5 separate regions of the Homo sapiens genome follow, and all the other regions are linked to region 4. The links are contacts of gene promoters, found by promoter capture Hi-C in blood cells and fetal thymus (Javierre and others, 2016). All regions are on one chromosome and are shown on one strand. Each heading gives the region's core, a stretch centred on a gene start or on the middle of the fragment in contact. The rest is flanking DNA. Distances are from core to core; before and after follow the strand shown.

Evidence for each region. The method cuts DNA at HindIII sites, captures the fragments that hold promoters and counts their contacts. A CHiCAGO score of 5 or more calls a contact.
Region 1: a fragment that was not itself captured here is called in contact with the fragment with the promoter of TTC39B in region 4 in 6 of 17 cell types (naive CD4 T cells, monocytes, naive CD8 T cells and 3 more); the score reaches 7.4 in naive CD4 T cells.
Region 2: a contact is called between a fragment that was not itself captured here and the fragment with the promoter of TTC39B in region 4, in 2 of 17 cell types (naive B cells and fetal thymus). The highest score is 6.4, in naive B cells.
Region 3: a fragment that was not itself captured here is called in contact with the fragment with the promoter of TTC39B in region 4 in 2 of 17 cell types (fetal thymus and total CD4 T cells); the score reaches 7.1 in fetal thymus.
Region 5: a fragment that was not itself captured here is called in contact with the fragment with the promoter of TTC39B in region 4 in 2 of 17 cell types (fetal thymus and total CD8 T cells); the score reaches 5.8 in fetal thymus.

Annotation. Positions count from the first base shown.
Region 1 is chr9:15,562,792-15,568,033 of GRCh38, reverse strand. CCDC171 (coiled-coil domain containing 171) reads right to left here. Exons shown (of 26, transcript NM_173550.4): 2 at 3,905-4,056. The coding sequence starts at 3,945. Among named protein-coding and RNA genes, the nearest start is that of CCDC171, 12 kb to the right of the region's middle. The HindIII fragment of the contact is 8,095 bases long and covers 1-5,242 here.
Region 2 is chr9:15,614,940-15,620,058 of GRCh38, reverse strand. The region is part of intron 6 of CCDC171 (coiled-coil domain containing 171); the gene reads right to left. Among named protein-coding and RNA genes, the nearest start is that of CCDC171, 64 kb to the right of the region's middle. RefSeq lists an enhancer at 1,083-1,582. The HindIII fragment of the contact is 1,373 bases long and covers 809-2,181 here.
Region 3 is chr9:15,636,731-15,641,550 of GRCh38, reverse strand. All of the region lies in intron 7 of CCDC171 (coiled-coil domain containing 171), which reads right to left. Among named protein-coding and RNA genes, the nearest start is that of CCDC171, 86 kb to the right of the region's middle. The HindIII fragment of the contact is 343 bases long and covers 2,953-3,295 here.
Region 4 is chr9:15,305,966-15,310,110 of GRCh38, reverse strand. It overlaps TTC39B (tetratricopeptide repeat domain 39B), which reads left to right and starts at 2,895. Exons shown (of 20, transcript NM_152574.3): 1 at 2,895-3,027. The coding sequence starts at 2,986. RefSeq lists silencers at 2,641-2,980, 3,011-3,330 and enhancers at 2,568-3,130, 3,694-4,145. The HindIII fragment of the contact is 2,405 bases long and covers 2,654-4,145 here.
Region 5 is chr9:15,585,317-15,590,429 of GRCh38, reverse strand. All of the region lies in intron 4 of CCDC171 (coiled-coil domain containing 171), which reads right to left. It also overlaps the pseudogene HMGN2P16. Among named protein-coding and RNA genes, the nearest start is that of CCDC171, 35 kb to the right of the region's middle. The HindIII fragment of the contact is 3,016 bases long and covers 355-3,370 here.

The DNA.
Region 1 (5,242 bases), core at 27-2,526, 260 kb before region 4:
AATCCAAAAACAAAATTAAGAAAACAATTCCATTTATAACAGCATCAAAAAGAATAAAATAAATTTAACAAAAGAAATGCAAGGCCAGGGATGGTGGCTCATGCCTGATGCCAGCACTTTGGGAAGCCAAGGCAGGAGGATCACTTGAGGCCAGGAGTTCAAGACCAGCCTGAGAAACATAGCAAGATCTTGTCTCTACAAAAATAAAAAAAATTGGCCAGCCATGGTGGTACATGCCTGTAGTCCTAGCTACTAAGGAGGCTGAGGCAGGAGGGTCACTTGAGCTCAGGAGTTGAGGCCACAGTGAGCTAAGATCATGCCACTGTACTCTAGCCTGGGCAACAGAGCAAGACCTTGTCTCAAAAAAAAAAAATAGTGAAAGATTTTTACACTGAAAAATACAAAATGTTGTTCAAAGGAGTTGAAAAGCTAAACAAGTGGAAAGACATTCCACCATACTCACATTCATGTAAGGAAAACTCAATATTATTAAAATGGCAATTCTCCCCAAATTATTCTACATATTCAATATAATCCCTATTAAAACCCCAACAGACATTTTTGCAGAAACTGAAAAGCTGATCCTAAAATTCATATGGAAAGACAAAGAATTCAAAATAGCCAAAACAATCTTGAAGAACAAATGGGAAAACTTTTGATTCCTAATTTCAAAACTTACTATAAAGCTACAGTAATCAAGACAATGTGATATTGGATTAAGAACAGACATGTACGCCTGTAATCCCAGCACTGTGGGAGGCTGAGGCCGGTGGATCACAAGGTCAGGAGTTCAAGACCAGCCTGCCCAAGATTGTGAAACCCCGTCTCTACTAAAAATACAAAAATTAGCTGGGCACAGTAGCAGGTGCCTGTAATCCCAGCTACTCGGGAGGTTGAGGCAGGAGAATCACCTGAACCCGGGGGACAGAGGTTGCAGTGAGATCACGCCACTGCACTCCAGCCTTGACAACACAGTGAGACTCTGCCTCAAAAAAAAAAAAAAAAAGGACATGTAGATCAATATATCAGAGTTAAGACTCTAGAAATAAACCTATACTTAAATAGTTAAGTAATTTTCAACAGAAGTATCAAGGCAATTCAACGGGGAAATGTTACTCTTATCAACAACGCTGCTGGAACAACTGGCTACGCACATGCAAAGAGACAAATTTAGACCCTTACCTCGTACAAAAAGTAACTTAAAATAGAGCACTAAATATAAGAGCTAAAATTATAAAACTTCTAGAAGAAAACATAGAAGAAAAATCTTCATGACCTTAGGTTAGTCAGAGATTTCTTATATACAAAACCAAAAGCACAACTCCTATAGGAAAAGAACTGATAAACTGGACTTCATCAAAGTTAAAAACTTGTGCATTTCCAAAGACACTATTAAGAAAACAAAAAGTCAAGCCACTAAACAGGAGAAAAATGTTTGCATATCATATATCTTATTTTTTGTTGTTGTTGTTGTTGAGACAAAGTCTCGCTCTGTCACCCTGGCTCAAGTACAGTGGCATGATCTAGGCTCACTGCAATCTCCGCCTCCCAGCTTCAAACAATTCTCATGCCTCAGCCTCTGGAGTAGCTGGGACCACACAGGCACACCACCACGCCTGGCTAATTTTTGTATTTTTTTGTAGAGATGGGGTTTCGCCATATTGGCCAGGCTGGTCTCGAACTCCTGGGCTCAAGCAATCCACCCACCTCAGCCTCCCAAAGTGCTGGGATTACAGGCATGAGTTACTGCACCAGGCCAGCAAATCATGTATCTGATAAAGGACTTGCATTCCAAATATACAAACACTCCTAAAGCTCAATAACATAAAAAAAAAAAACACAATTTAAAAATAAACAGATCTGAAGAGACATTTCACCAATGAAGATACATGAATTACCAAAAAGCACATGCAAAGATGTTCAACATCGTTAATCATTAGGAAAATTCAAATTATAACCACAATAACATATAACTTCACACTCACCAAAATGGCTAAATTGAAATAGATAAAAACCAGTATTGGTCAGGTTATAGAGAAATTAAAACCCTCAATTATTGCTAGTGATAATATAAAATGACCCAGCCACTTCAGAACACAATTTGGCAGTTTCTTGAAAATTTTAACATAAATTTACTATATGATACAGCATTGCTGCTCCTAAGAATCTACCTAAGGGAAACAAAAACATATGTCAACACAAAGACATATGCAAACATGCACAGCAGCATTATTCATAGTACCCAAAAAGTGGAAACAACTCAAATGTCTGTCAACTGGCAGATGGGCATAATGTGGCATATCCATACAATGGAATACAATCAGCAATAAAAAGAAACGAAGGGCTGCTACGTGTTACAACTTTACAAAACTCAGGAATATGCCCTGTAAAAGAAGCCACAAAAGACCATCTATTATGTGATTCCATTCACATGAATTGTTCAAAAAAGGCAAATCTATAGAAACAGAAAGTAGATTAGTAGCAGATTTTAAATAACTGTATCCAGATTCTCTAATTATAAAAAGTAATTCAGCCATTAAAAATGATGACAAGCCGGAGCAATGGTGCGTGCCTACAGTTCCAGCTACTTGGGAGGCTGATGCAGGAGGATTGCCTGAGGCCAGGAGTTCTCAGACAGCCTGGGCAACATAACAAGACCCCACTTCAGAAAAATTTAAAAACTTTGATACATTGATGTGGTAAGAAGTTTCCCCAAAATTGAAAAAGCAGGATACTAAATAAGGTGAAATATTCTAATTTGTAAATACATATTTAAAATTAGCCAGGCGTGGCAGCAGGCGCCTATAATCCCAGCTACTTAGGAGGCTGAGGCAGGGGAATCACTTGAACTCGGGAGGCGGAGGTTGCAGGGAACCAAGATCATGCCACTGCACTCCAATCTGGGCGACAGAGCAAGATTCTGTCTCAAAAAAAAAAAAAAAAAAAAGTGGGGGGTGGGTAGCTTCAAAAGCTAAGTGGAAAACAAATTTACGGGTAAATTACATGTTAGTCTTGGTACTTGTCCCACCCACACATCCTTGCTGAAAAGGCAGTCTAGATCAGTCCTTCTCAAACTAAATATGAGGAAGGACTATCTTCACCCCATCCATGATGATTTTGTAAAATACATTTAATGCATTATTTTTAAAGAAATTTTAAAAACAGACAGAATACAACCCCAAATGTTTTACTCTTAGATTCAGCAGACAGAATATTACTCTGTTACATGACTATAAAAGTTTCTAAACATTTACTTTTAATTTCAGTACTTATTTCTTTGTAAAGCACACTTAGGAGAGAGTGGCACTGCCCTATGTGGTCCAGTTTTGTATTATAGACTCCACCCACCAAAGGTGAATGAACTAAAGGTAGGCGCCACGCCCAAAGGCAGAAATCAATGGTACAAAAAAGATGAGCAACAGCAATTAGGCGTTACGTCTTGAAGGGTAAACTGAGAGATACCAAGTAAGGAAGCGAAACAGCAACAGGAGCTAAGACTAAATGAATGCTTAAGCAGTAGCCATGAATTAGAGCTGGGCCAATGAAGAAAGAGGAATTAAAGCCACAGAGGTTAAAGAAAACAAAACAGAAATATAAATAAAAAATACAAGGGAAACATTTAAAGTAGTGGAAAAGAACAAGCAAGTCTCTAGTAACAGGACAAAGTTCAGACACACAGACTTTTGTGGTCCAAATTAACAGAGGAGCACAAAATCCCCATAAAGTCTCTAGAATCAGTTCCAATTCTTATGAGGCTTCATTCATGCTCCTTCAGTCCCACAGAATTTCTACTCCCCTTACCATCCCATGAGAATTCTTACAGTTAGCTCTACAACCACTGACTTCTCCCTGTTCCTTGCAACTAAAAACGTTCATCAACTAAAAGAAGAGACTAGAGGCTTACCTTTGGGTATCACCAGTATTACTTGAAGTATTCAAATTCATGATGTTTTCCAACTCTTTCAAAATACCCTGCTATTTCTTAATGACATATTTCTTTCTTGATGATTAAAATTGCCCAAGATGTCTGTGGCTTCACGTTAGATGATTTGAGGTCTGTTAAAATAGTAAATGATACAATAGCAGTTTGAGTCCTGATACTATTGGAGATTTTTCTTGTTTTTTGGTTTATTTTGGAAAGATGTAATAATTGATAAGTGAAATTGTAGGTGTATAGAGATATCTAGACCTCAGAAGATCACCAAAAGAAAAGGAACTCAAATAAGCAGACTGAGATGGAGACTGTATCTCAGTGCTGAGAAATGACTAACAGCTCCTACATATAGATCCAAAGGATCTTTACAACAGTGATTCACGTGGCTGACTGAACAGTCTGACCTAGGACAGAGGTTGAAATTTTGGCCAAGATGATGTGGGAATGGGGAGATCTCATCTATCCAGGGACCTGAAAGACTAGGTTGGAAATAGTGGTAGACAAATGAATACCACCGTCATTCATCTACTGAACACCTACTACAGCGTCAAGCACTGTAATTGGTATTTTATATATAGCATTGTGATCCTTACAACACTGCAATGTAAGGATTATCCCATTTTTCTACCAAGAAAACCAAGACTGAGATTAAAAGTAACTTGAGCCGGGTGCGGTGGCTCACGACTGTAATCCCAGCACTTTGGGAGGCAGAGGCAGGCAGATCACCTGAGGTCGGGAGTTCTAAACCAGCCTGACCAACATGGAGAAACCCCACCTCTACTAAAAATATAAAATTAGCCAGGCGGGGTGGCACATGCCTGTAATCCCAGCTACTCAGGAGGCTGAGGTGGAAGAATTGCTTGAACCTGGGAGGCGGAGGTTGCAGTGAGCCAAGATTGCACCATTGCACTCAAGCCTGGCCAACAAGAGAGAAACTCCGTGTCAAAAAAAAAAAAAAAAGAAGTAACTTGAAAAAGTCACATAGTTACAGAACCAAGATTCCAATTCATAACTCTCTGACACTGAAGTTCAAGTTCTTTCTAACAGGCCACTGATGACACATAAACCTGAACTATAAGTTATCTTACGTGAGGGTTATTATCCTCACTTTATAAGAAAACTCATCTGATTCAGAGACGCTCAACTGTCTTGCCCAAAGCCATTCAGCTATTAAGTGGGGGGCACCAAGGAGTCTATCAAGCTCTTCAGATATTGTCCCAAAATCTTGTCACATTATCACCACGCTCCTGAAGGTCAGACCCCAGGGAAACTTCCTTCAGAATGAAAGTAAGAGTTAGAACCCAGAAG
Region 2 (5,119 bases), core at 246-2,745, 310 kb before region 4:
CAAACAATATTTTGAGAAGAATCTTTTTTTTCTGAGCAGCAGGTACCGTGGGCTTAAATATTCAGTTAAATATTCTGTAAAGAGATGAGCTGTCATCTGGGCTTTGTTGTCCCATTTATAGAGCACAGGCAGAGTATATGTAGCATAATTCTTAAGGGCCCTAGGATTTGGAGAATGGTAAATGAGCAATGGCTTCAACTTAAACTCACCAGCAATATTAGCCCCTAACCAGAGAGTCATCCTGTCCTCTGAAGCATTAAAGCTGGGCACTGACTTCTCCTCTCTAGCTCTGAAACACCTAGATGACACCTTCCAGTAGAAGATTGTTTTGTCTGCAATGAAAATCTGTTGTTTAGTGTGGCCACCTTCATCGATTATTTTAGCTAGATCTTTGGGATTACTTGCTGCAGCTTCTACATAAGCACTTGTTTCACCTTGCATTTTTATATTATGTAGAAGTCTTATTTCCCTAAAAGTCATGAACCAATCTCTCCTAGCCTCCAACTTTTCTTCTCCAAATTCCTCACCTCTCTCAGCCTTCATCAAATTGAAGAGAGTTAGGGTCTTGTTCTAAATTAGGCTTTGACTTAAGGGAATGCTGTGGCTGGTTTGATCTATCCAGACCACTACAACTTTCTCCATGTCAGCAATAAGAATGGCTGGCTCTCTTATCACTTATGTGTTCACTAAAGTAGCACTTTTAATTTCCTTCAAGAACTTTTCCTTTGCATTCACAACTTGGCTGTTCGGCACTAAAGACATAGCGTTTGGCCTGTACTGGTTTTCAACATTCCTTCCTCACTAAGCTTAATCATTTCTAGCTTTTGATTTAAAATGAAACAGGTGTGAGCCTTCCTTTCACTTGAACACTTAGAGGACACTGTAGAGTTAACTGGCCTCATTTCAACATTGTTGTGTCTCAAGGAGTAGGAAGGCCAGACGAGAGGGAGAGTTGGAAGAACGGCTGGACAGAGGAGTAGTGAGAACACATATATTTATAAATTAAGTACATCACCTTATGCAGGCATGGTTCATGGTGCCCCAAAACAATTACAATAGCAGTAACGTAAAGACCACTGGACAGGGCGGGGAGGGGCCACGATGGCCAAATAGAAACAGCGGCAGTCTGCAGCTCCCAGCGAGACCAACGCAGAAGGTGGGTGATTTCTGCATTTCCAACTGAGGTACACAGTTCATCTCACTGGGACTGGTTAGGCACTGGGTGCAACCCACGGAGAGCAAGCAGAAGCAGGGTGGGGCGTCACTTCACCCTGGAAGTGCAAGGAGCTAGGGCAACTCCCTCCCCCAGCCAGCCAGGGGAAGTGGGGAGGGACTGTGCTACCCGCCCTGAGTACTACGCTTTTCCCATGGATTTTTGCAATCCGCAGATCAGGAGATTCCCTCGTGACCCTATGCCACCAGGGCCCTGTGTTTCAAGCACAAAACTGGGCGGCTGTTTGGGCAGACACCAAGCTGCAGGAGTTTTTTCGTATGCCAGTGGCACCTGGAACTCCAGTGAGAAAGGACAACCGTCCACTCCTCTGGAAAGGGAGCTGAAGCCAGGAACCCAAGAAGTCTAGCTCAGCAGGTCCCACTCCCACGGAGCCTAGCAAGCTAAGAACCACTGGCTTGAAATTCTCACTGCCAGCACAGCAGTCTGGAGTCGACCTGGGATGATCGAGCTTGGTGGGGGAAGCAGCGACCGCCATTACTGAGGCTTTCGTAGGTGGTTTTCTCCTGATAGTGCTAAGGAGACTGGGAGGTTTGGACTGGGCACAGTCACCACAGCAAAGCAAAGTGGCTGTGGCCAGACTGCTTCTCTGGATTCCTCCTCACTGGGCAGGGCATCTCTGCAGGATATGCAGCAGTTCAGTCAGGAGCTTACAGATAAAACTCTCATCCTGGTAGGACAGAGCACCTGGGGGAAGGGGCGGCTGCAGTCGCAGCTTCAGTGGACTTAAATCTTTCCTACCTGTCAGCTCTGAAGACAGCGGCTGATCCTGACAAGGGGGATTCTCCCAGCACAGCGCACCCGCACTCCTAAGGACAGACTGCCTCCTCAAGTGGGTCCCTGACCCCCCTGCCTCCTGACTGGGAGAGACCTCCCAATAGGGATCGACAGACACCTCATATAAGAGAGCTCCAGCTGGCATCAGGCTGCTGCCCCTCTGGGACAAAGCTTCCGGAGGAAGGAGCAGGCAGCAATCTTTGCTGTTCTCCAGCCTCCACTAGTGATACCCAGGCAAACAGGGCCTACAAACTGCAGCAGACCTGCAGAAGTCCAGCAAACTGCAGCAGACCATCAGAAGAGGGGCCTGTTAGAAGAAAAACTAACAAACAGAAAGGAACAACATCAACATCAACATCAAGAACCCCCCCCACAGGCCGGGCGTGGTGGCTCACGCCTGTAATCCCAGCACTTTTGGAGGCCGAGGCGGGTGGATCAGGAGGTCAGGACATCAAGACTATCCTGGCTAACATGGTGAAACCCCGTCTCTACTAAAAATACAAAAAATTAGCCGGGTGTGGTGGCGTGCACCTGTAGTCCCAGCTACTTGGGAGGCTGAGGCAGGAGAATGGCATGAACCCAGGAGGCGGAGCTTGCAGTGAGCCGAGATCACGCCACTGCATTCCAGCCTGGGTGACAGCGCAAGACTCCATCTCAAAAAAAAAAAAAAACCCTCCCACAAAAAGCCCATCCAAAGGTCATCAGCCTCAAAGATCAAAGGTAGATAAATCCACAAAGATAAGGAAAAGTCAGCACAAAAATGCTGAAAATTCCAAAAGCCAGAATAACTTTTCTCCTCCGAATGATCGCAACACCTCTCCAGCAAGGGCACAAAACTGAACAGAGAATGAGATTGAGCAATTGGCAGAAGTAGGCTTCAGAAGGTGGAACAAACTCCTCTGAGCTAAAGGAGCATGTTCTAACACAATGCAAAGAAGCTAAGAACGTTGATAAAAGGTTATTACAGGAACTGCTAACTAGAATAACCAGTATAGAGAGGAACATAAATTCCATGTGACATGCCTGCTCCCCCTTTGCCTTCCACCATTATTGTAAGCTTCCTGAGGCCTCCCCAGAAGCCGAGCAGATGTTAGCACCATGCTTCCTGTAAAGCATACAGAATGATGAGCCAATTAATTAAATCTCTTTCCTTTATAAATTACCCAGTCTCAAGTATTTCTTCATAGCAATGTGAGAATGGCCAAATACAAATAGTATTATGAACAACCTTATGTAATCTCATTTTTTCATAAGAGTACTTTCATATATGAAAGCACTTTTAAGAACATTATGCACTATACTACCTAAGTATAAAAGACTATTATTCTATATGATAGGTCCTCCTCCTTCAATCACTCAATAGCCCCAGTATTAATTCAGTCACTGTTAAATTATATGCCTTCTTAAATTACAAATACATAATCTCCAACTTTCAGTCATTGACTTACATACTTGTCTACTTTAAAGTAAATAAATAGCAATTTACATGGTTAACCATAAACCAAATAATTTGAAATAATAACAAAATGGAGTCTATAACAAAAAGATGCTTATATCCTAGTTGATCGAAACTATTTTATATAGTATTTTATATAGTAAAATAAATAAAATAGTAAAATAAATTATTTAGGAAGTCTCATGAGATTTATTTATAAAAGAAAATCATAGGCCAGGCATAGTGGCTCACTCCTGTAATCCCAGCACTTTGAGGCCAAGGTGGGTAGATCCCTTGAACTCAAGAGTTCAAGACCACACTGGGCAACATGGCAAAACATCATCCCTAAAAAATAAACAGAAATGGCTGGGCGTGGTGGCTCACACCTGTAATCCCAGCACTTTGGGAGGCCAAAGGGGGCAGATCACTTGAGATCAGGAGTTCGAGACCAACCTGGCCAACATGGTGGAAACTTGTCTCTACTAAAAGTACAAAAAATTAGCCAGGTGTGGTGGCACACACCTGTAATCCCAGCTATTCGGGAGGCTGAGGCAAGAGAATCGCTTGAACCCAGGAGGTGGAGGTTACAGTGAGCCAAGATCACACAACTGCACTCCAGCCTGGGCGACAGAGCGAGACTCCATCTCAAAATAATAAATAAATAAACAAAAATTAGCTGGCGTTGTGGCGCATGCCTGTGGTCCCAGTACTTGGAGGGCTGAGGTGGGAGGATCACTTGTGCCTAGGAGGCAGAGGCTGCAGCAAGCTGAGATCATGCCACTGCACTCCAGCCTGGGTGACAGAGTGAGACCCTGTCTGAAGAAAAAAAAAAAAAAAATCACACGTGATTCCCATTTTACTGACAAATCATGTAGAAACACAACACATAATCACTTAAATCCCATTGCAATAAACAAAGAGTATGCCCACTATTCCACCAAGTTTAAATTTAATCCTTTTTTAAAAAAAAGAACCTGGAAAATCAAAGGCCAATCAGTTAGAGCTTATGATGTTTATTTTGGTGATATATTACTATATTACTGCTATGATAGTTGATCTATATTTAATATTACTTGCCAAATGGCTTTTATTTAAGAGTATTTCAAGATTTAGATAAAATTCTGACCTAACAATCACATTTTCAATGCAGAGGTCTGGTAGTCACTTAATATTATATGATAATTTCTATTGTATTCTTGGATATGAATATAAATACACACACAGATATAGACACATACAAACACACAAACATGTTTTCACGGAAAAAGATGTTTTCCTAAAATAGTAGAGATGTTTAGGAATTCTACTCAAGAGTAGAGATACTTAGAAATTCTATATGAAGAAAAGTTATATTACATTAATTAACTGACTACATTGAGTTAGAATTATATTGATTGATTTTCTAATGTTAAACCCGCCTGACATTAATTGTATAAAGTCTTTTATATTTTATCTTTTTAAAATCTTGCTACATTTGGTTAGCTAATATTTTGTATAATATTTTTGCATATATATTCATAACTGAGATTAGCTATAATTATCTTTTCTTCTATCCTTGTCAGTTTGGTATCAAGATTATGCTATCAAGATGTTTCCATTCTGTAGAGGAGTTTACATAAAACTGGAATTATTAGCTCCTTTAATGTTTCTTTTTATTCATTGGTAAAACAATATGG
Region 3 (4,820 bases), core at 1,875-4,374, 330 kb before region 4:
AAACATACCCAGATGTTCTCCACGTCACATTTGGTTCTATGGTTTCCATGGGCCTCTTCCAAAAGTTTCACAAAAGTTATGAAAACATATGTGTACAATGAATGTGCTGAAAGATTGAGTAAACAAAACAGTTTCTACTACATTCTGTTATCCCCAAATATATTCAGCTTAGAGGATTTGAACTTAAAACAATTAGTCAAGAAGAAAAACTGAGATATGAAATTTAGTCCACCAAAATAGACATCAAGAAAAATGAGATGAATTATCATGAGTACATACTAGTTAATGATTTCCTCAGGAGTGTGTTGTATGTTAGTTTCCTCATTAGTTGCACAAAGTTTACCCCAAACGTATCAATAACTTGTATAAATAGAAAATGATTATTTTTCCAGATTTTATCACCTGATAATTCCCTTTAATAGATGTTTTCATAAGTAATAAATATAGTAATAATCCATCTACAAAAAGGTGATTCCAAGGGACTGAATCATCATAGACTGATTAATTCTACGATGCTTATTTTAATGATAAGTGTATTTTATTTTGTTACATTTTAATAGCTGTTAATATTTTATTATATGCATGTTAATATTTAAATATAACACTTATTCTTTACCTGGGCAGGGAAGGGGGGCACACTTGTTAATACTATCTTTTGAGCCCTTAAACAGAAGGTCTCAAAGGATTTTTATTACCAAAAAAGATGCCTCAGAGGGTCAGAGTCTCCAAGTATTTGATAAGTATTTGTAAAACAGGCATCACAGTATTAAATCACTTAATCGCTAGAGTCATATATTGAAGGGTCATAATTAAGAACTGTCTATAAGCCCTTTACTATTTATCATCCTTGTTCTAATCAAACATGTTAAGAAACAATAATATTATTCAATTAGTCTGACCTTCAATGTTGGCTTTTTAAATGTAAGCATTTATATTTCTAATGTCACTTCTACATGACAGAGTGTATTTACATTAATGTCACTGAGGAGATTATGCCTAGAGTTAAATATTAATATGCTACAGTTTTCAAAGAACTCTCGTGTATGTTCTCATTTGACTTTTAAAATAACATGATATATTTTACATAAGGGGCCTCGTATGATACATAATATTTTAAATCTTAATAAGGCATTCTAATTTGAAGGTGGTGTTTTTTTTTAAGTAGCTCTCCTACTTTCCATGTGGCCAGCACAGTACATTAGAAAAACAACTCAGAGACAAAATTAATGCTGCTTTGTGACTCAGAACACGGGAACTGCCATGTAAAAGAGAAGAGGAAGGAAGTCCAACTGGTCTTGGAAGTGAATTGGTCAGGAAGTCCTATCCACTTTATTGTACCCTCATAGAAGTCCAAACATTTTACATTTATATTCAATCCCATTAAACAAATGTGACTGCATAAAAACAAAAGATTATTAAAAACAAATGAATAGGTTTATAACTTTTCATGATGATCTCATTGATACTTATTTTACTATATAGGTCAACTAAAAAGCAGAATGGAACATTTATAGAGTACCTACTATATGCCAGATGCCATACTAGGTCCTTGGCCCAAAGGCCAAAACGAGTCCTGACACATCTATAAGCATTTCCATTAGGAGTAAGCAAAAGACCTGTGTTGTAGACAAAAATTCATTTGTCGCTAAAGGATATTCCTTCTACTTACTTCTCTGAACTACAATTCATCTGTAACTGTTTTATTAATGGCCAAAACATATTTGTTTTCCAGAATCCCCTAGATTATTTTACATAAACAGGCTCATATAAAGCATAGCAGAACATAGAAAGATTCAGAGTTCTCTGTGCCAGTCATCTTGATCATGATTAACTATGCAGTTCTGAAGGTAGAAAATTCAAAGTTAAAGTCACTGAGGATGGTAACAGAGCCTTAACGGTTTCAGAAGGGATATATGAGGACAATAGGCTGACAATAGAAATAAACTGGAGAACACTGTAATTTTTTTATTCAGCAAGAAATGAAGTATACCACTCAGATTATAAAAGAGTTTAATGAAGAAAAAGTTTTATTACTTCTAGGTATAATCAAAAAACCCACAGATAATAAAAATAAGAAATATCAGGAACAGAATTTGTGGTCGCAAATTCTGATTAACATGATAATAAACTGATTTACCTTCTTTAAAAATTATCTCTACCTTTTCTGGCAAAAAAAACTTGAGTATTTACCAAATTTTTAACTGAAGTTCCAATCTTAAAATTTATTATAAACATAAAATGCTGCATTTAAATGTGTAATACCTATGACTGTATAACACAGGTGATTTCATCATTTACCTATTTTATAGTTAGTAATCTATGCAAATGGACCTTTGAAAATGATTCCTACAAACACATGATGGCTTTAAAAAGATGAATCATACAAGGTGGTCTTTATCAACAATTATGAAAGGTAAAATACAACTTTTCCATTTTCAGTTGAAGATAGTACGCATTTAGAGAAAGATGCTACCTTTTACCCTTTTTTATGTTACTATAATATAGAATATGACTGACAGAAGCAATTCAGAATTTATTTGCAAAGACTGTTCTCTCTCTACCATAATCTTCAGAAGATTCTTCAGTTCTCTCAGAATTAGGTTTGCATCTTCTCTTTTCTCTTTTCTTATTGAGTTAAGCTTATTTCCCATGATAATAAACTCCCCTAGTTGTAAAGAGGTTTATAAAAGCCATGGATATTTCTTTTTCCAGTTTGCTTTTCCCTTGATTCTATGGTATCCAGTACTGCATTTATAAAATTGGATTGGGAGTTTGTTTGTTTTTTTTTAATCTAAGAAAGCATTGATCCATGTTAAGATGATTAAGACACAGTGATATAAAGCTTATAAGATTTTTAAATTCTTTTATATTTATGTTTCATATATATAAAAACTTCTTTGGCTCAGGCACATAAAAAAATCACCTTTCAAGAAATGCAACTGTTAAAAAGCTTCACTAGAATTTAAAACATTCATTAGGCTAAATGTCTATTTTATTAGTTGCTTTAGTTTGATATTGCTGATATTAAATAATGTACTTTATTAAATTAAAATTTTAACAACTTCTTCTTTATTATTATCCCATCTTACCTTAATTCTCTTAAAAATACCACTAACAATTACTTAAGTACCTAGTATTACTGGTAGTGATTGTCTCCGCAATTGAGTGTAAAACTAACATAAAATGCTCTCCAGAAATTTAACTTCTTGTTCATTATGTCACTATGTGGTCAAACAGCCAACATAAAATATACTAACTAATATACAACACATGATATATAATATAAAGCAAAGCTTTTAAAAAGAATCTAAATATGAGAAATCATAGGTAACTTAGAAGACTAAAGCTCTCCACTTGTAAAATTCTTACAAATAGAAGAAAAATAAAGACTATCTAGACTACCTTCAAAGCTTCAAGTTCTCCAAAAGCAGAGACCTGGTATTATCAAAAGTATTTACACAGCAGTAAAGAAAAAAACATAAAGTAAAAATATTGTGGAAGTCAGTGTGGTGATTCCTCAGGGATCTAGAACTAGAAATACCATTTGACCCAGCCATCCCATTACTGGGTATATACCCAAAGGACTATAAATCATGCTGTTATAAAGACACATGCACACGTATGTTTATTGCGGCACTATTCACAATAGCAAAGACTTGGAACCAACCCAAATGTCCAACAAGGATAGACTGGATTAAGAAAATGTGGCACATATACACCATGGAATACTATGCAGCCATAAAAAATGATGAGTTCATGTCCTTTGTAGGGACATGGATGAAATTGGAAATCATCATTCTCAGTAAACTATCGCAAGGACAGAAAACCAAACACCGCATGTTCTCACTCATAGATGGGAACTGAACAATGAGATCACATGGACACAGGAAGGGGAACATCACACTCTGGGGACTGTTGTGGGGTGGGGGGAGGGGGGAGGGATAGCATGAGGAGATACACCTAATGCTAAATGACGAGTTAATGGGTGCAGCACACCAGCATGGCACATGTATACATATGTAACTAACCGGCATATTGTGCACATGTACCCTAAAACTTAAAGTATAATAATAATAATAATAAAATAAACAAAAAAATTTTAAAAAGTAAAAATAAAACCAGTCTATAATAATATTATACCTATAACATCAACCAATAAAAACAGATATTGAGGAAATTAAGTATTTTACAGAAAAAAGTCAATACCGGGTTGTGCACAACCACACCTTAAAGTTTAGGTTTAGATATTTTCTTTTTTGTGTGCATTTTATTACTTTTTCTTTTGTTTTGTTTTTGAGATAGAGTCTTGCTCTGTTGCCCAGGCTGGAGTGCAGTGGCACAATCTCGGCTCAGTGCAGCCTCCACCTCCCAGGTTCAAGTGATTTTGCTGTCTCAGCCTCCAGAGCAGCTAGGATTACAGGCGAGCGCCACCATGCCTGGCTAATTTTTGTATTTTTAATAGAGATGGGGTTTCACCATGTTGGCCAGGCTGGTCTCAAACTCCTGACCTCAAGTGATAGGCCCACCTCAGCCTCCCAAAGTGCTGGGATTACAGGCATGAGCCACCACGCCCAGCCGATATTTTCTTAACTGAGTCAAAACTGCCTTACCAAGAACCCTAAAAACAAAAAAAAATTCGTTATTACATAGTACAGCCTCACAACTATAACACAATTAATAAAATGTTTTTAGTGATGATAGAGTTTTCTAGCATCCTTAAGTGACTTCTAAGTGATCTTTTAAATTCTAATATTCAGAACATTAACTCTATCCTAAACCTTTTTTTTTTTTTTTTTTTTTTGAGGCAGGGTCTCACTTTG
Region 4 (4,145 bases), core at 1,646-4,145:
ACGTTCCAGTGGCTAGAATACATTTATTCATTCAGTGTTTATAATTGAAACATGAATGTTGCTTATCTCCTGCCGTGAATTTAAAACATACGAGACTTCAGGTTTGATCCCTGATATGTAAAAAATTCAACAACAAAAACACCAATCAAGCTTCAATTATAAGTATAGATTTTTGAAAAATTGTACTCGATTTTCATTATAACATAATTCTGTCACTAATTAGAGCGAAGTTTGTTTGGATCTCTTCAAAATTTGAAGAGTTGAAATTCCAAAGGCAGAATAACAGCATATGGGAGAAGAAGCTACCAGTGAGATGGCTTCATGTCAAAAGGATGTGCTATCAATTCAGGAACCAATGAACTTTGAAAAACAGAACCATGCATGAGTAATACAGAGTAGAATCTGGACCTGGATAGGAATTCTAGCCTCAGAAAGTGAAACATAGGAGGAGGTAGGAGTGGGTTGGGGGTCTGGGAAGGAATGGAAACTTTCAAGGGTATTGGAATTAAACAAACTCTATGTCTCTTCTGGTCCATCTGATTCTAAGTGTTCAGAGCATGTGTTCTAAATAATAAAAGTATTATTATTATTATTATTTTTGAGACGGAGTTTCACTCTTTTCACCAGGCTGGAGTGCAATGGCACGATCTCGGCTCACGGCAACCTCCGCCTTCAGGGTTCAAGCAATTCTCCTGCTTCAGTCTCCTCAGTAGCTGGGATTACAGGCGCATACCACCATGCCCAGCTGCTTTTTGTATTTTTAGTAGAGACTGGGTTTCACCATGTTGGTAAGGCTGGTCTCGAACTTCTGACCTCGTGATCCGCTCGCCTCGGTCTCCCAAAGTGTTGGGATTACAGGCATGAGCCACTGCACCTGGAGCTTTTTTATTGAGTACCTGCACTGATGAATAAGATAGTGCCTCCTTCTAAGCAATTTACAGATTAGTGGGAACCCAGGAGGCGGAGGTTGCAGTGAGCCAAGATCGAGCCATTGCACTCCAGCCTGGGAGATGAGAGTGAAACTGTCTCTCAAAAAAAAAAAGTATTATTATTTAGAAATTGGGTCTTGCTATGTTGCTCAGGCTAGTCTCGAACTCCTAAACTCAAGTTAGCCTCCTTCCTCAGTCTCCCAGTGCTGTAATCCCATACAGGCGTGAGCCACCACACCTAGCCTGTGTCAGCTAGTTTTTTTAAAACAGCTTTACTAAGATATAATTTACATAATCATAAGTTCCACCTATTGTAAGTACACAATTCAAGGATTTTTAGACAATTCAGAGAGTTGAGCAACCATCACACGATCTAACCCATTTTTTCAATGTTTCTGCTGTAGAAACCATTTTATTATTCTAGTACAAAAGTACATGCCAAGCCATTAAAATTGTACAGCAAGTATTAAGGATGCAAAGTGACTCACTGAAAATGTATGTAATGGACTTGCACAGACAACTGCTCTACTGACACAGAAAGAAAGAGAGGGAGGGTGGCTAGAGCCAGTACAGTACAAAGCAATGGTTATCAGCTAGGCCCTAGAGTTAGACTGCTGGGGTTCAGATGCTGGCATCCCTACTTACTTAACTGCTGTCTGGCCTCAGGCATATTACTTGAACTCTCTGAGCCTCAGTTTACTCATCTGAAAGAGAACAGCACCCTACTTTATGGGGTTATGAAGAATAAATGAAATACTATATGCAAGAGGTTCAGTAGAGTCCTGGCACATAGTAAGGACTCAAGAACTATTAGCTGTTTTTACAGTTATCACTGGATGACTATTAAATAGCCTTTCATGAGCCAGACATGGAAGACCACATGCTCTAATTAAATTTATATGAAATTCTAGAGAAGGCAAATCGATGTTGATAGCAGATCAGTGATTGACAGAGGCTAGGGAGCGGAGGTAGGAAATTGACAGCAAAGGGTCACAGAAAACTTTTCAGGATGTTCTATATTATGACTGGGATGCTTTGTAAACACTTGTCACTGAATCACACATTTAACTTGGTGCATTTTTCTGTATGTAAAGTAAATCTGACCTCTCTCCCCCAAACTCTTAAAGATCTAGCTTTTAATTTTCCAGTTATTTTACATGTCAGAAGCAAGGTTCAGTTTCTAAACTCAGCCAACAAATATCTGTTGAGCACCTACGATGTGCAAGACACTGTTCTGGGTGTTGGGGATACAGTCTTGAAGAGGACAGATAGCATCCTACCCCCATGGAGTTTATAGTTCAAGCACGAATTATACACCTATGTTTGGAGTTACAAAATACAGGATGCTATGGGGAGAATACACTGTCCGGGTAGGGGGAAGTAGAGGAGTTCCAATATGTATAAATCTCTGTCCCGCGTTTTTTTCTATTTTTTGAACACAGAAGCAAGCAGAGTCCTTCCACCTACAGTCCAGGTGGGTGGTGTGTCAGAGGCCTCTCGGGGACCAGTGACCGTGACCCAAGGCTGCCCTCAGGCCACACCATCTGCGAGATGCGGTGGCCACCTGGCGAGGGAAAAGGACTGGCACCGGACCAAAGACCAGGTGGATGCTTCCACGGACCCCAGGTGGGGCGCTGCTTTGACCTTGGCTTCGTCATGCCCGCGCTCTCTAGCTTCTTTCCAGGTGTGCCCAGCCACCGCAGAGAACAGGCGGCAGGAAAGCTTAGGAAACCCTCCCAGAGGGCGTGCCAGACCGGGAAACTTTATCTGGGAGGTGACTCCACCCACTTGGGCGGGGCTGCCGCCCGCTGGGGGCCGGGCAAGTGGCCCGGCCAGCGGCGCGGCGTCCGGGGAGGAAATGGATGCTGTGCTGGCCTGCCGGCTCCGGGGGCGGGGAAATCGAGTAGCTGCACTCAGGCCCCGCCCGAGACCCGGAGGGAGCGCCGGGCCGTCCCCTTTTGCCCTCCTTTGCGCTGGGCTGAGCCCAGAGCCGAGAGCAGGAGTCGGCTCTGAGTTCCCTGCTTGGTTTTTGGGTGGCAGCAGCCAGAGGAGGAATATGGCGCTCTTAGGCAGCCGAGCGGAGCTGGAAGCGGACGAGGTACGATCCGATGGGGATTGCGGGCCCGGCCCCTGAAGCCCTGGACAGGAGTCCGGGAGAGAAGAGTGAGCCCGGCTAGGACGGCCGAGGCCCCGCCCCCTTGGTCCCCTCTCTGGGGTGGGCTGGCGGGCGCCGGGTGGGGGCGCCCGGCCTTGGTAGGTCTGTCCCCGCTGGAGCTAGGAGGGTCCCTGCGGCGCGCGGAGCGGACGCAGTGCCGAGGTTCGGAGCGCCGGCCCCGCGAGTCGTGGGGATGGAGGACCCACGTCCTGCCAGCACTTGGATGGGCGTGAGGGCGCGGGACCATAGGACCCGCAGCTCTGAGCTGTTCCGGGCCGGCCCAGCGACGCCTGGGCTTTACGAAGTCTGACCCTGAAGTCCTGGCACTGGCTCTCTGGGTGTTCGTGGAATCATCCCTCGACCTGGGAATCTCACCTTCTATGGAAGTTTCCTGGTGGCAGAACCGAAAGGCTTACGATTGATGAAAAGAGGGGGCAGCCTGAGGAACAATGAGTAGAGGGGTACCTGCCGCGACAGCAGGGCAGGGCTGCCAGGGGCTGGGGCTGGAGGGCTAGAGCCGCAGCCCAGGCTGTGGTGCTTCCCTCTCCCTCCACGGGGCCGGGACACTTCCCCTAGCAGGTCCTCAGAGTCGGTGGTGGCCGGAGGGAAACCACTTTGAGAACCGACTCCGGCCTCCTTTGGTTTCAACTGTGTTTGAGTAATTAGCCACTCCTTCAGTCGTGGCGCGCCCGGGCCTGAGCACCCAGGGGCTAGCGCGCCGGACCTGTTGATTTATTGACTATTCATTTCAGCACCTGGCAACTCCAGAGACAGCGCTCTCCCTGCTCTTGAAGTTGAGACCGAGGCTCCAGCAGCAGCCAGCACCCACAGCTGCTGTTCCTGCCATCTTACCTGACTTGAATTGTGCGAGTCGCTGCCTTTAGAAGGCTTTGGTTTCAAATGATGCAATAGTGGACGATCTGGAGGAGGCGGTTAAGTTTCCCGTCCATCTCTTTAGTGCCAGGAATCTCCTGACAAGGAAGACTATACTTTAAATGTGCTCCGTAAAATAAACAAAAAACAAAAACTGAACTACAGCTCCTCTGCATGACAGAGAGACA
Region 5 (5,113 bases), core at 613-3,112, 280 kb before region 4:
CCCTGATTCTCTGATTCTCACTAGAAATAAGAATGTCCCTAGTTAAGTTTTTGTGAAGATAAAATGAGGAAATGTTTATAAAAACACATGTTAAAAGATGCCACAGCTATATTAGCAGTATTTCTAAATTATATTTCTTTGCATTTTGAATCAATCATACATTCAAAATGTTCAAAATACAAAGGTATAAAAGGTACAAAAGGAAATACATTAAAAGTCCCCCTCCCATTCAGCTGCCATCTCCAGAAGACATTCTTCCATGGTCTCTCATCCAGCATTGCAGGAAAGTAGTTTGAGGCCATTTTGACTCCTGATCCTTTGCATTTGACCTATTTTTCTTTTCTCGTGAAAGCTTTAGAATCTTCTCTGTCTTTATTTTTCTGAAATTTCATAATGCTATGCCTGCAGTAGGTCTACTTCTTTCCATAACGGTAAATATTCAATAGACTCTTTCAATCTGGTAATTCATGTCCTTTAGTTCTGAGATGTTATCTTGAGTTATTTTCATTGATGATTTATCATACATTTCTGTTTTCTCTCTTACGTCTTTCACTATTCCCTATTATTCAAATTGGTCCTCAAATTTTTTCATCTCTTCTCTCCTATTTTTCTACCTCTGTCTTTTTAATTCTAATTTCTGGGAGGTTTCTTCCATCTTCATCTTCCAGTGCTTCTAGGGACATTTTTCATTTCTGCCTTCATATTTTTAATTTGTTAATTTTTTCAAGCCAAACTGTATCCAACTTTATTAATTATATTTTTCACAAACAATAATGGTATTGTAGGCAGGTATTTCAATTAACAGTATACAACTTTCAAACCCTCTTCTTCAAAGGACTACCAAAATCAGAAAGCCACTATAAACCCAATGAAGTCCTCATTTGATGTTCTCAACAGAGAGTTTAGAGTGGGGGTTGACATTTCACATTAACATGTTGTTTAACAACTTTTCACAAGCAGACTCTGACTTTTAGGAAGTGAAATGAAAATGGCAGGATTTATCTAAAGATCTACAATCTAGAAACAGAAGGGCTGCTATTTTGAGGAGTGCCATCTCAGTGGTGTCATTGGAAAGTCCAGATTGCCTGATACACTGGCAACCAATTACTGGGAGTCAATCCCAAGAGATGTCTGGGCTTAAGGGAGTTAAGTCTATGCTGAGGATGGAAGGGAGAAGAGGACATAAAAACAAATTTGTTTTTCCACACCACAAGGTGTTTGTGCCAAGGTGGCTATGTGTGTCAATATCAGGGAATCTCTCCTCCTGGAAGCCAAGAAGAAGTCTCTCAAAACTAGAAGGGAAACGTGTTTTCCCCCCATCAATCCACTTCAGAGACATTCTAGTAGTAACACATGTCCCTTCCTCAAAAAACAACGACGTTTTCTGTGGGGCAACAACATAGCTCTAAAAAAAAAACACGGCTGGGTGCGGTGGCTCACGCCTGTAATCCAAGCCCTTTGGGAGGCCGAGGCAGGCGGATCACAAGGTCAGGACATCGAGACCATCCTGGCTAACACGGTGAAACCCCATCTCTACCAAAACAAATACAAAAAATTAGCCGGGCGTGGTGGCGGGCACCTGTAGTCCCAGCTACTCAGGAGGCTGAGGCAGAAGAATGACGTGAACCCGGGAGGTGGAGCTTGCAGTGAGCCGAGGTCGTGCCACTGCACTCCAGCCTGGGTGACAGAGTGAGACTCCGTCTCATAAAAAAAAAAAAAAAAAAAAAAAGTCTGCATCTTCATAAAACTTGGTTGAAAAATATTTCAAACTGTATAGTCACCAAAAGTGCACAGTTATCAAAAATGCACACATTTCACTTGGCGTCTCCAGCACGCTGAGCTTCCTGTGCCTGGTCTGTTTTGGCATCTCCATTTCCTGCAGGATTCTTCCCCTCCTTGTAAGCATCAGCTTTTCCCTTTGGGTACCTTTTCTCCCTTCTTTGCAGGGGCAAAGAAGGCTTTTTGGGCTTGCGCTCTGGCTTTGAAGGAGCAGGTTTAGCAGACAACCTTGCAGATCTTCTCTGTAGCTTGGCTTTATCTCCTGTAGCATCCCCTTCAGGCTTTCTCTTGGGCATGGTGGTAATGCTGCTAAGACGTAGCACCAGATGCAGGGATGCAATGGCGTGTGGGCTTTGGTCAGTCCGGGGGTCCTTCTTGCCTCTTCTTCCCACTGCTTCCATATTTTTAAATTCTTTGAGACAGAGTCTCACTCTCTCACCCAGGCTGGAGTACAGTGGCGCAATCTCGGCTCACTGCAACCTCTGCCGCCCAGGTTCAAGTGATTCTCCCACCTCAGCCTCCCGAGTAGCTGGGATTACAGGCACTTGCCACCACGCCTGGCTAATTTTTGTATTTTTAGTAGAGACAGGGTTTCACCATATCAGTCAGGCTGGTCTTGAACTTCTGACCTCATGATCCACCTGCCTCGGCCTCCCAAAGTGCTGCGATTACAGGCGTGAGCCACCGCGCCTGGCCTCATATTTTTAATTTCTAATAGATTTCATCTTTTATAACACCTGGTTCTTACTTCATAGATGAAATATATTCTTTCAGATCTGAGGAAATTAATGCTACTTCTTTTAAATGTTCTCCCTGCAGAGCCTCTGTTTCTTCTAAGTTGATTTCTTCTCTCCATTTTAAAGGGTTTCCTCATATATCTGGTAACTCTTGGTTGTCTACTCTCATTAAAAGTTAGAAACTATAAATGTAATACAGTTTATACACTAATATACCCACCACCTAGAATCTGAGCTTCAAGGTGGACGTTAACAACTTTAGTCTTCGCTGGAGAAGGATCTGGATGGCTCATTTATTGGGAAACCTCCAACATCAGTATCATTAGGTTCTTCCTCCTGGCTTTGTATTCGTCTGTTTTTTTGGATAAAGACATACCTGAGACTGGGCAATTTACAAAAGAAAGAGGTTTATTGGACTTACAGTTTCACATGGCTGGGGAAGCCTCACAATCATGGCAGAAGGCAAGGAGAAGCAAGTCATATCTTACATGCATGGCAGCAGGCAAAAGGAGAGCTTGTGTAGAGAAACTCCCATTTTTAAAACCATCAGATCTCGTGAGACCCATATCACAAGAACAGCATGGGAAAGACCCACCCCAATGATGCAATCATCTCCCACTGGGTCCCTCCCATAACACATGGGAATTATGACAGCTACAAGATGAGATTTGGGAGGGGACACAGAGCCAAACTATATCAGCTTGGTCAGGTGATACACAAAAGAGTCCTCCAACATCCGGCATAGAGTGTAGAAATCCAGGTGTTAGCTTTTGGGGAAGTCAATATATAAAGGAAGCTGGGGGCTGAGCATGGTGGCTCACACGTGTAATCCCAGCATTTTGGGAGGCCAAGCTTGGAGGATTGATTGTGGCCAAGGGTTTGACACCAGCCTGGTCAACATGGCAAGACCTAGTCTCTACAAAAAAAAATTTTTTTTAATTAGTCACGTGTGGTGGCATACACCTATAGTCCTAACTACTCAGGAGGCTGAGGTGGGAGGATGGCTTAAGCCCAGGAGTTCAAGGCTGCACTGAGCTATGACCACACCACTGCCCTCCAGCCTGGGCAACAAAGTGATACTCTGTCTCTAAAAGTAATAATAATAATTAATTAATTAATTAAAGGGAAGCTGGAAGGAATGGCTCCTCAATATTCAGCATTCAGAATCTTCCTGGTTTTGCCAGTCAAAAGACTCTATTTCGCCATCTCCAGGGATTAAACCTCCTGACTTCCACTAGCAATTCTTAAGTAATCCCAGAGTAGCATGCTCTTGGAAGGAAATCTAAGGACCTATCTGCCTCTCAAACAGCTTTCATCTAACCCTACTTATTTTACTCACTACTGCTACTCCCATACATAATTCCAATGGTATCTGGTGCTTCCAGTTTATAAGCCTTTTGACTAAGAATTTCTCTTTCGGTTTTCCCCACTCCTGACTTAGGATTTTAACATCTCTCTAACTCAGTTATTCCTCATCCATTTGCTTTCCAGCTTCCAAAATTTTCTCTCTTGTCACACCCCCTGTTCTCTCCATTGTTATGGGATTATCTCATAACTGCATTAGGCTTTTTACACTACCCTCAACATTTCACTATAAAAATTTTAAAAACACAGAAAGTTGAAAGTATTGTGCAGTGAACATCCATATATCTACAACCTGGACTCTAGGATTGTTAACATTTTGCCATATTTGCTTTATCAGATATTCATCCATCCTTCAATGCATGCATTCATTTATCCACCCAGCAGTCCATCATACATTTTATGCATTTCAAAGCAAGTTGCAAACATCAGGACATTTCACTCCTAAATAGTTCAGCATGTATATCATTAATTAGAATGTAATATAGTTTTATTTTTTTACAGATAAAATGTACATCTAGTAGAATGCACAAATCTTTAGTGTACTGTTCAAGGAGTTTTTCGTTTTGTTTTTTTGAGACAGAGTCTCACTCTGTCATCCAGGCTAGAGTGCAGTGGTACGATTTCAGCTCACTGCAACTTCTGTCTCCTTGGTTCAAGTGAGCCTTCTGCCTCAGCCTCCTGAGTAGTTGAAATTACAGGCGTGCACTACCATGCCTGGCTAGTTTTTGTTTTTAGTAGAGATGGGGTTTCACTATGTTGGTCAGGATGGTCTTGAATTCCTGGGTTCAAGCGATCCACCCGCCTCCACCTCCCAAAGTGCTGGGATTACAGGTGTGAGCCAATGTTCAAAGAGATTTTATGAATAAATACATTCATGTAACCCAAACACCTATCAAAATACAGAACATTTCTTTCAACCCAAAAAGTACCCTCATACTCTTTCCCAGTCAAATCCACTGCCAACCCACCCTGCAGAGGCCATCACTGTTTAGATTCTTTTTTTCACCAATGATTAGCTTTTCCTATCCTAGAACTTTATGTTAATGGAACCATACAGGATGTCCTCTTGAGTGTAAAGTTTCTCTCACTAAGCATGTTTTGGAGATTCATTCATGTTACCGCATACGTTAGTGGTTGCTTTCTTCTTATTGTTGAGTAGCATTTCATTATATAACACAAATTGTTTCTTCATTCTCTTGTTAATGAATGTCTTTTTCCCCAACTTTGGACCA